Linked DNA regions of Homo sapiens: region 2 is linked to region 1. Evidence: promoter capture Hi-C in 16 types of primary human blood cells and fetal thymus (Javierre and others, 2016). All regions are on one chromosome and are shown on one strand. Each heading gives the region's core, a stretch centred on a gene start or on the middle of the fragment in contact. The rest is flanking DNA. Distances are from core to core; before and after follow the strand shown. Region 1 holds the start of RASL11A (RAS like family 11 member A). Region 2 overlaps USP12 (ubiquitin specific peptidase 12).

Region 1 (6,780 bases), core at 1,906-4,405:
GTCATGGCCATCCCAGTCTTCTTTGCTAGATACTTGAGTAATCTCTTTCCCAGTTTCTCTGTTCTGGCCAGTGAGATGTAAGAGAGAGTCTGCTGAGTTCTTGTGAGAACTGCTTTATTTCATAAAGAGAACAACTAAGAGAGTACTTCCTTCCCTTCCTGTTTGGGTAAGGACTTGATGCTGCAGGAGCCACCCTGCATCCATAAAGGAGAAGTCAAAAGGAATCAGAGACAACAGCCCAGACCCCCATCACGGAGCTGCACGTGACCCTGGAACTTAACAGCTTCCAGTTGTTCCCTAGACAGTCATTGTCTTTATGGTGCCTTTTCCCCCATCAGGGAGGAAGGTGCCTTGCTTCAAGTCTTTTCAATTAAACTGCAGTTTAACAGAGAAAATTGCCTTATGAACAGTCAAAAGTCAGTACAACTTAAATATGGCAGTTTATCTCAGGACATCTCCCAGCACACGTCTTCCTGAGAGCAAGCTGCTCTCAAAACCAAGGCAATGGGAAAATGGTCAGAAACATGACTTCTGTATTTTCCAGTTCATACACTGAAGACAGCATTCATTCATTCATTTGGAAAGTCAGCCAGTGAACAAACATTTATTAAGGACCTTGCCAGTCCCAGGTGCCACTATGTGCTGGGTACTAGAGTCACAAGCTAGAGTCCCTGTCCTCCTGGAGACAGACATGAAACAAATATTCCACCAGAAAGTAATGATAGTTGAGATCAGTGCCCTGAGAGTGAGTAACTGCAAGATAGGGGTGGGGACAGTGGCAGTGATCAGAGACGGCTTCTCCAAGGGAGGAACATGTAAACTGAAGTCACCATCTAGTCTAGATTAGTTTACTTCAGGATTATTCAGAATTCTGCAGATAAGAAATGAGGCCGGGCGCGGTGGCTCACGCCTGTAATCCCAGCACTTTGGGAGGCCGAGGCGGGCGGATCACGAGGTCAGGAGATCGAGACCATCCCGGCTAAAACGGTGAAACCCCGTCTCTACTAAAAATACAAAAAATTAGCCGGGCGTAGTGGCGGGCGCCTGTAGTCCCAGCTACTTGGGAGGCTGAGGCAGGAGAATGGCGTGAACCCGGGAGGCGGAGCTTGCAGTGAGCCGAGATTGCGCCACTGCACTCCAGCCTGGGCGACAGAGCGAGACTCCGTCTCAAAAAAAAAAAAAAAAAAAGAAATGAGAGCAGTAGGGATACAGAGGGAGACACCAAGAAATATAGGAGGAGAAATGATGGAACTTGGCGATTAATCAATGTGGAAGTGAGAGAGTGGGTAGAGTCAAGGATGTCTCCCAGGCTTGGGCCACTGGGTGGATGGAGACACATTCATTAGCATGGTCAATTACAAAAATGGACCCCATTCTCCATCACTCTCTGCTTCCTTGCCCTTTCACACGTGACTTTTCTGCTGTTTCCACAAAGGGGCGGAGTGTATTTCCCTACTCCTTGAATATGGGCTGGCCCCATGACTTGCTTTGGCCAACAGAATGCAGCAGAAGGGATGGGTTCCTTCTCAAGGCCTAGGTCTCAAGAGGCCTTATCCATTTCCACCCACTCTCTTGGAACTCTGCTCAGCTACCATGAAGGCAGGCCCTGGCCAACGTGCTGAATGAGAAGAGACATGTAACTCAGTCACTACCCTCCCTCATCACAGCCAACAGCTGCCAGACATGAGTAAGGCTATCCAAGGGCAGCCAGCCCCCACTTCCAGAACCTGGAAGCTCCCTGCAGATGCATCAAAGGGCTCAACAACTGTAAGTGATTGTTGTTCTAAGCCATCTAGTTTGGTGTGGCTTGTCATGCAGCAAAAACTGGTACAACCAGGGTAGAGAAAGGTATGAATTAGGGTGGGGCTGTCTAATAGGCGATTAGGCAAGTGAGGCTGGAACACAGGAGGTCAGAGGCATGAAGGTCTTCTAACTGTTCAAGGTTAAAGTCCTGAGGCTTCTGCTGTGCTATTTCTGGTGGGCTCCAGAAATCCAAGAACCAGTCTATAGCTCTGTGTCCTGTTCCTCACACTGCCCCCCACCCCACCCTAGACCCCACCATGCACCTAGAAGTAAATATTTGGATACTGAAGCAAATGCATGACTCAAGCACATAGGATAGTATTAATGATGGACACTTAGTGCAGGGCCAGGGCCCCCAGCCAGTGGAGTGCTCATGAGTGTTCAGGAATGAGCCAGTGCAACCCCTGCCTGCAGAGGAGGGGCTGGGCATGGATACTGAGATGCTAACCATCACTGCCCCTAAGGGGACTTCATCTATCCCTAGCAAGGTCACAGTGACTGCAGTTGCCTCCACTGATACTAATTCAGAGCTCTTGCCCCCCGCCCCCCGCCCTTTTCCCATATTAATGTTACCCCTTAGCATCTTTTCTTTTCTTTCTTTTTTTTTTTTTTTTGAGACGGAGTTTCGCTCTTGTGGTCCAGGCTGGAGTGCAGTGGTGCCATCTCGGCTCACTGCAACCTCCGCCTCCCTAGTTCAAGCGATTCTGCTGCCTCAGCCTCCCGAGTAGTTGGGATTACAGGCGCCCACCACCACGCCCCGCTAATTTTTGTATTTTTAGTAGAGACAGCGTTTCGCCATGTTGGCCAGGCTGGTCTTGAACTCCTGACCGCAGATGATCTTGCCCACCTGGGCCTCCCAAAGTGCTGGGATTACAGGCGTAAGCCACCGCGCCCAGCCCCTTAGCACCTTTTAAAAATAAAAAGGGCAGCGTTTTACAGCAATCTGTCCCATTGTTGCAGAAACATCCAACTGATTGCACTTTTTCTTCTTCTCTCGTCAACTCGTAACTCCTATCTCAAGTTCACCCACAGGTCTAGTGACTCCGGCTGGCTGCTGCGGGGCGAGGAGACTCGCAGAATGCCTGACTAGAGGCCACTCGCGCGCTCTGGACGGTGGCCGTATCTCCAGGGTCTGAGCCCCGGAGCCGCAGTCCTGCCGCAGAGCGCCTGGAGCCGCGAGCAGCTAGCAGCCCGGCGAAGCGCACAGCCTCGGCGATAGTCAGCTCCGCGGCCTCTGCTCCCGCCCCTCCCGGCCGCTCCGGGAAGGGGCGGAGACGAGGAGGAGCTGGGACGGCCGCCGCGCTCCCGGGCGCACCAAGCCCTTTAAAAGCCGCGGGCCTTGACAGTTCTGCAGGCAGCCGCCGCGGTCCCGGACCTCTAGTCCCGCACTCCCAGCTGGCGAGCCGGCTCCGGGTGCGGCGAGGCCCAGCCCTCTCGGATTGCGCGCCGGACCCCGGGACGCGCTCCATGCGGCCGCTCAGCATGTCCGGGCACTTTCTGCTCGCACCCATCCCCGAGTCCTCCTCGGACTACCTACTGCCCAAGGACATCAAACTGGCGGTGCTGGGCGCCGGCCGCGTGGGCAAGAGCGGTGAGTGCGGCGGGGACCCCCGGGCGGCTTCGCTCCCCGGCTCCGGCCGCGACCACTGGGGGCGCTGCGGAGAGAGGGCGCCTCGGCCGAAGCAGAGGGCGCGGGTGCAGGTAGAATCGGGCTGCTTTCGCGCTGGGTGGGTCCCGGTCCGTCCCGGCCTGCTTCCCTGGCGTTTCCTGGTGCATCTACTCCTGGGATCTCGGCGGGATTGGCGCCTGTTCGGGGATGGGGTGCGGGAGAGGTGTCCCGCCAGTCGTACTCGCGGCCAAGCCCGCGGCACCACGGCTTTGCGGAGCCTCTGGAAGCGAGCAGTGCCCACGGTTCTGCACCCTTCACTCCCCCCAGTTTGTCCGAGGTGCCTGGGTTTGACAGGCTTGTTCTACTCCTTCGGTTGATTTTCCTATTTCCTTTTCAGCAATGATCGTGCGCTTCCTGACCAAGAGATTCATTGGAGACTATGAACCGAATACAGGTGAGAATACTTTCACGCTCCCTGCTTTTATGCTTGCGTGTTTCTTTTTACGGATGGGAGTTTGAGAATTAAAAAGCAAACTCTACTTCATTCTCCAGGCAAGCTGTATTCACGGCTGGTCTATGTCGAGGGGGACCAGCTCTCCCTGCAGATCCAGGATACTCCCGGGGGCGTCCAGGTAAGAACCGCCAGGGGCAAACAGCTCACCCCCACCCGTGAGACCACCCCAGTGGGCACAGCACGTAGGGCGCCCATGCTGGGCGCAGGGGTCTGAGCAAGGCATCTAAACCGACCTGTGCGTTTAGAGGGAGGAATGGGCTGTCCACAGGTGGGGCCAGTGGTTGGGGTGTTAGAAACTCTCTAAGGGGGAGGCATGGTTAGAAGCAGCCTCCTCTTGTTAAGCACCTGACTTAACTTCACTTTGCAACCCTGGTGGGCCATCACTACTTAAGCAGGTCTCACCATTTCTTCCGGAGGTAGCCATGGAACCATTAACAAAGAAAAAAACGTTTAAAACAAAACAAAACAAAACAAAAAAAGAGGTAGGATTCTGATGGGAGAGACTCTTCTCCCCTGGCAAGCTCTGCTTTTTTTGAGACGGAGTTTCACTCTTGCCCAGGCTGGAGTGCAGTGGCTGGATCTCAGCTCACTGCAACTTCCGCCTCCTAGGTTCCAGCGATTCTCCTCGATTCTCCTGCTTCAGTCTCCCGAGTAGCTGGGACTACAGGCACCCGCCGGAACTCCCAGCTATTTATCTATTTATTTATTTATTAGTAGAGATGGGGTTTCACTATGTTGGCCAGGCTGGTCTCGAACTCCTGACCTCAAGTGATCCGCCCACCTCGGCCTCCCAAAGTGGTGGGATTATAGGCATGAGCCACAGCGCCCGGCCCAAGCACTGCTGAACTGCTGCTGTTAATGGCTGTTCCCTCAAGTCAGTAATTGCAATCAGATAACCCCTTGGCAGAGGGTCTAGAATGTAACTTGTTTATTAACCAGTTACTAATTGCTACTCCGTTCTCCAGAGGAAAGGTCTTGTGGAAGAACCCTAAGAAAGGAATTTCTTTCTGTAACATTCTTAAGAAGTGCATGTTAAAAATGTTTTTATGAGTTTGGGAATAGATATTTATCTTGGCTTATTTTCAAAGTTTTGTTTATTATGAGTTAGTGTTTCCTAAAACTTGAGCCATTCTGGTTTGAGGTCATTCTTCAGTCAGCCATGGTTCACCAGAGACTGCCTGACAAGCAAGGGGTTTAAAAATAATGCAGGGATAACAGCTAATAAAGTAACTCAGGCAGGGAGTTTGCCTGGGAATCTGTTCTTTCCATATCAAAAGCCTGCTTCTGCAGAAGCTGGGTGGAAACTGAAAACTGTATTTAGAGATTTCTTTTTCAAGTGTTTCTTCAAGGGTTGCCTTGATGTTGTTTTGAGTTTATCTCCCACTGAGGGTTTCCTTGACTGGATCTCATTTTGATGTTTTCTCAGATCCAAGACAGCCTCCCCCAGGTCGTCGATTCCCTGTCCAAATGCGTGCAGTGGGCCGAGGGTTTTCTGCTGGTCTATTCCATCACAGACTATGACAGCTACTTGTCCATCCGACCCCTTTATCAGCACATCCGGAAGGTCCACCCTGACTCTAAAGCCCCTGTCATCATCGTGGGCAACAAGGGGGACCTTTTGCATGCCCGGCAGGTGCAGACACAGGACGGTATTCAGCTAGCCAATGAGCTGGGCAGCCTGTTCCTTGAAATTTCCACTAGCGAAAACTACGAAGATGTCTGTGATGTGTTTCAGCATCTCTGCAAAGAAGTGAGCAAGATGCACGGCCTCAGTGGGGAAAGAAGAAGAGCCTCCATCATCCCTCGGCCCCGCTCTCCCAACATGCAGGACCTGAAGAGACGCTTCAAGCAGGCTCTGTCTCCCAAAGTCAAAGCCCCCTCTGCACTGGGGTGAACTATCTCAGACAGATGCCTCTCCTTTTTAATACGCATTTGTGCAGCTAAAAGACTGGGCTTCTCGCTTTTTAATCACACATTCAGAGTTTATTTTTATAAAAAAATTGATTTTCAAGTACATGTGTATTTCTGAAAATTCAAACAGTGATTGCCTAGAAGCTGGATAAAATTTTGTTTTGTTTTATTAAAAGAACTTTTTTTTTTTTTTTTTTTTTTTTTTTTTTACTGTAACTGCTGGCCACTTTTCCATTAAAGGCAAAATGGCAACATTGCTCATTGTTTTCTCAATGTCTTTTTATAGAAATTGTACTTGCACCAGCGCCCAGTGCTGCTCCATGCTTGCCCTCAGTCTGAACTCTGATTGGTGTCTCGCAGTGGGGAGGAGTTCATGTAGAGGGAGTCTGTTGTGGGAGAAAGGAAAGTATGTGGAGGAGGAGAGGGATTTTAATAACGGCAGGAGGTCTTTAAATGGGACACTGCCACCAGTCATGAAATTGACACTGTGTGATTTTCAAGGGAAGGGGTACAATGCTAAAACGTTACAAGCCATGAGTAACATTTATTGGTGCAAATGCAAGTTTATACTCTACCCATATTAAAAAACAACCCCTTTTCTAGTATTCCTTATGTCAGTAAGTGGACCCTACCACCCAAAAGTTGCCTCAAAATTCTCCTTCCCTTCCAATAGGGCACCAGATATGTCCATCCTCACTCCTGTTTTTCTCTAAAGCCTCACTGTCCCTTAATCTAGACCTCCCTTTGACTGGCAGGCAAGAATCTAGGCAAGACTCATGTTTCTTGCCTTCTAGAATGACATCTCCTAATTGTCTCTTCACATCAGAACAATGCTACTAAAACTAACCCTAATCATTTTATTTCTATAAAAAACCCAGCTGGTTTCCCCTTAGCTACTGGTTAAGATAGACATGAGACATGGCATCAAGATTCTTTACCACCT
Region 2 (6,780 bases), core at 2,982-5,481, 110 kb before region 1:
ATACATTTTTTAAAGTTAAAAAAAAACGTGGACGCATTGTGGTAGTAGAAAAATAACTGCCTCCCTCAAAATGTCCACATCCTAATCCCCAGAACCTGTGAATTCAAGTTGCAGAAGGAATTAAGGTTGCTAAAATCAAACGACCTTGAGAGAGTATCCCAGATTACCCAGGTGAGCCCTATGTAATCACAAGGGTCTGGTAAGTGAAAGAGGGAAGCAGGACAGTCGCCGTCCGAGGGAGGTAATGAAAGAAAGACTGGCCAGTCATGGCTGGCTTTGAAGATGCTGCAGGGGCCAGGAGCCAAAAGGCAAGGGCAGCATCCAGGTGGCAAAGGCAAAGAAACAGTCCCTCCTGCAGCTCCAGGAAAGAACACAGCCCAGCCAGACCCACATAAACCTCTGACCTCCACAACTTTTTTTTTTTTCTGATGTCCACAACTTTTTTTTTTTTTTTTTTTTTTTTTTTTTTTTTGAGACGGAACCTCGCTCTGTCACCCAGACTGGAGTGCAGTGGCGCGATCTCGGCTCATTGCAACCTCCGCCTCCAAGGTTCAAGCAATTCTCCTGCCTCAGCCTCCCAAGTAGCTGGGACTACAGGCGCGTGCCACCATGCCCGGCTAATTTTTTGTATTTTTAGTAGAGACAGGGTTTCACCATGTTGGCCAAGATGGTCTTGATCTCCTGACCTCGTGATCTGCCCGCCTTGGCCTCCCAAGGTGCTGGGATCACAGGTGTGAGCCACTGCACCCAGCGACCTCCATAACTTTAGAATAATAAACTTGTGTGATTTTAAGCCACTAAACTTGTGGTAATATGTTACAGCCCCATTGGAAACTAATGCACACACAAATTGGTCCATTTTAAATATTACAAATAGAAATACAAATAAATGCACTCTAATATCCCTAAAATCTGAAAATTAAAGTAACTGTACCTGGTTAGTTCATCTAATTTTCAGAATCCTGTGCCTAAGAATTTGAAGTTGCTTTTGTAAAAGCACAGGAGTAGTAAATATATAACCCTGAGGCGGAACATATTAAAAAATGGAAAATAAAAGAAAAACTACTTTGTCAAGTTTTAGTGTATAATCAGTTAAATCTTATTAATTATAGTTCAGATGCAAAAATCTGTTAGAACTTCATGTGCTCATTCACTTGTAATATCACAAAATTAAGTCTAGATGCGGAAAAGGTTCAACTTAATTTGTAAACTTTAGCCTGCCTAAATGTATGACTTTCGGAATACAACTATGAAAATATTCTGAAAATGTAAAAAGTTTATTTCTATGTAGCTTCAAATATAACATAGATGTACATTCTCTTTCAATGTTTTTAAAAATATTTCTTAAAAAAAACCTATAGAAGCAGTTAAAACTGTATTCTGAAGCCCTAATGAAACACTGGATCTAGGCAATGATTATCAACAGTTGCTAAAAACCATGAGGTAAAAAGCTGCCAGCAGCTCCGTAACAGAAGAGTCATTCTGACAATGCCAGCCTCATCATTATAAAGAGACACGACATTCCACTGCAAACCAGAAGTACACATCACCTAAGTTTTTCCACCACCACTTGTACCTCAACTCCTGCAAGGAAAAAAAAAAAAAAAATCAAGGAATCTGGTTCAGGCCTCTTAATCTACCAGATTACAGAAAACACAAAGGATGGAAGAACATGTTAAACATCACAAAGGGGATGCAATCAGCAAAGTACAGAAAATGAAAAAAGCTATGTGACAATCTGATTTCCTCAAAAGATAAACTATAATAAAAAAGAAACAGGGATCCACATTTAAGAGATATAGTGACGAAACGCAACGATGATCATTATGGATCCAACTATAATCATTTGAGACAATCAGGTAATTTCAACAATGATTGGATATTTATGAGTATTAAGAAAGAAAGAGGCTGGGGGGGCAGTGGCTCACGCCTGTAATCCCAGCACTTTGGGAAGCCAAGACAGGCGGATCACCTGAGGTCAGAAGTTTGAGACCAGCCTGGCCAACATGGTGAAACCCCATCTCTACTAAACAAAATACAAAAATTAGCTGGGCATGGTGGCAGGCACCTGTAATCCCAGGTACTCAGGAGGCTAAGGCAGGAAGAATTGCTTGAACCTGGGAGGTGGAGGTTGCAGTGAGCCGAAATCACACCACTGCACTCCAGCCTGGGCGACAGAGCAAGATTCCGTCTCAAAAAAACAAAAGAGAGAGAGAGAAAAAATGATTTTATGGTTGTCTTTAGGGGGAAGAAGCATCTACACCTACATTAGTAACAGCATGATCCGGCGGCAAAAGCACTAGACTAAATACGGAGAGGTCTCAGGCAGAATCCTAAAATCAAATCACTGGAGTCTGAAATAATCTATTTGTTAATTTCCTTACCTGTAAAACAGACTACTCCTCTCTATGGGTCCATCTCATAGATTTCACAGTTTTTGTTTGGAAAAAATGAACTAATAATAACAAAGTAATCTGAAATGTAAATACTGACATTGGTGAAGTTTCTTCACAGCAGGTATGTTACAAAAATATATTCTGCGTAATAGTTATTTTCACTAATGTGGTAATCATGTTTTGTTGGTTTTTTATTTTCAATAAATTTTCTAGAAAACCACTTCTGATCCCTTTTTGCTTGATAAGTTTTACATACATTAAGCTAAAAAACAGAATGCTGTAGTTGAAATGGACCTAAGATCACAAAGAGGTGTATATAATCCCGTCATTATATAGAGGTGTACATAATTCCCCGTCATTACTTTGGGAAAAAGTGGATGTTCTAGGTATGATCTCTCCCACTTTCCTTTACCCGCTGTATCAGAAGTACTTTTCATTAGCTCATTTTTAGCAAAAATGAGTTCTGTAAGCTACAAATGTGATTTTTAACAACATATACATGCCTTTTTTTAAAAAAAATATAAGTTTATAGAAGATTTTTCCCTAAACCAATATGAACCCAATCAATTTAACAAGTTTGAGGACAAAATTACTGAAACATTAAATCATGTAAGTAATTTTAATCACTTAACCTTATTTCTCTCTTGTTATTTTAATTCACTTCTCACTTCCTCGCCAGGACCTTTGTCCTCTTCATTTTTCTCCAAGTTACCTTTCAAATTCCACCAAGCTTCCCTCCCCACCACTCCCAAAAGCCTTCCTTCTCCAACTGATGCAGGCCTCACTCCAAATACCAGTCTGTCTTCCCTGTACACATCAAAATACAGCTTATCAAGTTTGTATCAGTTTACATTATTATACACAAAGCTGGTCTCCCCAACTAGACTGCAAGCCCTTTGGAACTTAAACAGCTTTGAATCTCTAGGGTCTAGCACATAACCCAACTTAATGAATATTCCTTGACATTAATTGCAATGGACCTGATTGCGCCATTAGTTTTACTGGGTGAACTGTGTTCCCTAATAAAGGTACGTTTAAGTCTTAAGCCCCAATATCTCAGAATATGACCTTATTTTGAAATAGGGTCTTTACAGAAGTAATCAAGTTACAATGAAGTCATTAGGGTGGACCCTAATCCAGTGTGACTGGTGTCTGTGTAGAAAGGGAAAATTCGGACACAGGCATAGAAGGAAGACAAAATGGAGACAGAGACACAGGGAGAATGCCATGTGAAAAGATTGGAATGATGCATCCACTGCCAGAAAACCACCAGTAGCTAGGGTAGAAAATGGAAGAGAGTCTCCTCATAGCCCTCAGAGGGAACCAACCCTGTCGACATCCTGATTCTGGACTTCTAGCCTACAGAATTGTTAGGACGATAAATTTCTGTTACAGGCATGCACCACTTAATGACAGGGATACATTCTGAGAAATTGACTGTTAAGCAATTTCATCATGGTGCGTATGTCATAGAGTGTACTCACGCAAACCTAGATGGTACAGCCCACTACACACTTAGGCTATGTGGTCTAGCCTCTTGCTCCTAGGCCACAAACCTGTACAGCATATGACTGTACTGGATCCTGTAGGTAACTGTAACACAATGGTAAGTATTCATGTCTCTAAACACATCTAAACGTAGAAAAGGTACAGTAACAATACAGTATTATAATCCACACACAGTTTCTGGCACTTTGTTATGGCAGCCCTAGGAAACTAATAAAATTATTGTTTAATAAAATGAAAATGTGCAAACAGTATTATATAACCAAACCTTTCAATATGATAGACATTGAAGATCATGGGAAATTAAAATGCACACAAGAGTTTTGACATGGAATGAAACATGATGACAACCAAAAATATACACTGTTAGGTGAAAAAGCAAATAAACCTGCAGTTTTAAATTTTGGGGGGAGTGGGGGTGACACACACACAATACCTCATGTTTGTATATGCACAGGTAATGTCTGGCAATAAACACACACATATCCCAACTCTTTCTAGCAATTACTTCTTGGGAAAGGGCGGCCCCTCTTCCTTGTAAGAAATGAATTTTTTAAACTCACACAATTTTGCAGTTTTAAAAATAGTAAGTGGTTTGGTTTTTCTTAAACTTCTAAAATTGCAAAATTAAAAGAAACTACCATTTCTAAGGTAATCAGATATCACATTTTTCTTTAAGAGTATATACAGTTAAACCTGAATAATTTAATTCTTTTAAAATCCTCACTCTGGTAGTTCAAAAAACAATGTATCAATTACTAAATTACAAGGGCGTATCTACCACCCCATTTCTAAAAGTTACCATGACATTATATTTCAAAGTCCATATTAAACACAGGCTGTTCCTAAAAATGTCAGGAAGAAAATAAGATTTTTCAAACACCATTCCATTTGCATCAGGCATATAATTCTGGTGTTTTACAAGTGTTCTATCATTAAATTTCATTTCTCAACTAGGCCACACCTATTCAATCCAGCCTTCTCTATCAATATCCAGTAACATTTGCAGAGGGCCTTGTTAACTTGGATGTCAACCAAAAATGTACCCAAATATCCTAACTCTCTTTAACAGTCTGTTCTAGATTTATCATCTATACATTTATCTAAACTCAAACTTTCCTACACCTTTATTTTTTATCATTGTGAGATCTGAATCTGTGAAATGCCTAGCAATAGCATCACCAAGTAGCCACTCAATAAATGTCAGACTCCTATATAAGTTCCTTGGGAAAGCTAAAATTACAGATGTCACATTCAACTTTACAAGTCAGGGAAGATGACCTAAGTCATCATTAACATAAAATGGCAAGAACATCACGGTAGGCTATTAGCACTGAAATGGTATAATAACTACAACCCAGTTTCAGAGATGAAAAGGAAAGAAAGTAGACTATTAAAGCAACTAACATCTGGGATGAAAATGTGTAACAGAAGAGAAGCTTTAAGGACACAAGGAAGTAAAAACCTGAAAGAGCGGAATTGCGAACACTTGGCAGGAGGAGTAACCTGAGCAAAGGCAACTGTGCAGTCTTTAAAGAACGAAAATACCACCTTAAATACATACCATGTGTCAATTATACCTCAGTAAAGCTGGAAAAACTCAATAAAGAAAGAAACTAAACAGAGAACAAAAAAAGGTGACAGATTTCACTTGTATCTTTTTAGTTAAAAAGGGCAACATAATGTCTCCAACTAAGACAATGATACAAATATCCAAGCATTTTTATCTGGCTAAGGCTTGATGTGTATAGTGAGAAAACAACCAGAAGTAAAAGTTGCTTCCTTTTAGTTTTTCATTTGCCAAGTTAAGTGAAGGCCTCTGCTTTAACCAGTCACATGACAATGGCAGGTCCTTGTTCAGCAGGGTCCCCCGTGGAGGAGATATAAGCCTCCTCAAATTGAAAAAAAAAATGCAATAAAAACAAATGAAACTAACCAGTAAACTTTAAAAAAGTGAACTGTCTTTAAAAAAAAAAAAATGCAACACCAGACAATGAAAAGATTCTAATTTGCCTAGCAGAACCAAAAGCACAATATTTTTGGTTTTGTTTTTGGTCCGTTGTATCTAGTTTTTGAGCCTTTGATGTTTCAAATTTGTTCCAAATTTTGTCCACCTTTACATAAAAACCCTGAGCACATCAGTCTGAAGAAATTATCAGCTTTAAACCTCTAGGTCCATCAAACAACAAACAGTGAAACCACTTGATTCCTATTCCTCACCTGTTCTTAAAAGAACCAAAGCATCATGTTTCTTTTTTTTTTTTTTCCCCCTTCAACCTTAAGTTACAGGGTACATGTGCAGGATGTGCAGGTTTGTGACACAGGTAAACGTATCATGGTGGTTTGCTGCACAGCTCAACCCATCTCCCCGGGTTAAGCCCAGCATCCATCAGCTCTTCTTCCTGATGCTCTCCCTCCCGCCATCCTCCCCACAGGCCCCAGTGTGTAGCGTTCCCCTCCACAAAGCGTCATCTTTCAAGGCCGTTAAGTCTGAAACCTTCTAAACATTATATCCCGTTTTGTGGAAAAGAGAATCCCCCTGCTCTATTAAGATATACCTCCTAACGCAAACTTCAAAGTCCCAGCTACTACCCCCAAGGTACCACCTTAACCATCCTGCATATGAGTCTCTTCATTAAGCAAATTAAACAAACAGGGAACCTTTGCAACATCAGCAAAGAAAAATTGTGAAACAATATGCCAGAGAAACAGCAGAAATAATTTCTTCAAAGTTATAACGGCTAGATTTTTGGACTAAGATAATCACATACAAAGCAGAATAAATGTTCATCTACAGAATCTCAAATTATAAATGCATTTTCCATTCCAAAGAACAAAAGCCTTGTATTTTATTGTCTCCTTACCCCTACAACTTAAG

Evidence for each region. The method cuts DNA at HindIII sites, captures the fragments that hold promoters and counts their contacts. A CHiCAGO score of 5 or more calls a contact.
Region 2: a contact is called between a fragment that was not itself captured here and the fragment with the promoter of RASL11A in region 1, in 1 of 17 cell types (naive B cells). The highest score is 5.6, in naive B cells.

The regions. Positions count from the first base shown.
Region 1 is chr13:27,267,675-27,274,454 of GRCh38, forward strand. It overlaps RASL11A (RAS like family 11 member A), which reads left to right and starts at 3,156. Exons shown (of 4, transcript NM_206827.2): 1 at 3,156-3,394; 2 at 3,810-3,866; 3 at 3,965-4,044; 4 at 5,353-6,780. The coding sequence starts at 3,271. The coding sequence ends at 5,820. RefSeq lists an enhancer at 2,618-3,118 and silencers at 3,067-3,286, 3,327-3,556. The HindIII fragment of the contact is 11,897 bases long and covers 1-6,780 here.
Region 2 is chr13:27,154,628-27,161,407 of GRCh38, forward strand. All of the region lies in intron 1 of USP12 (ubiquitin specific peptidase 12), which reads right to left. All of the region lies in intron 1 of USP12-AS1 (USP12 antisense RNA 1), which reads left to right. Among named protein-coding and RNA genes, the nearest start is that of USP12, 14 kb to the right of the region's middle. The HindIII fragment of the contact is 2,215 bases long and covers 3,125-5,339 here.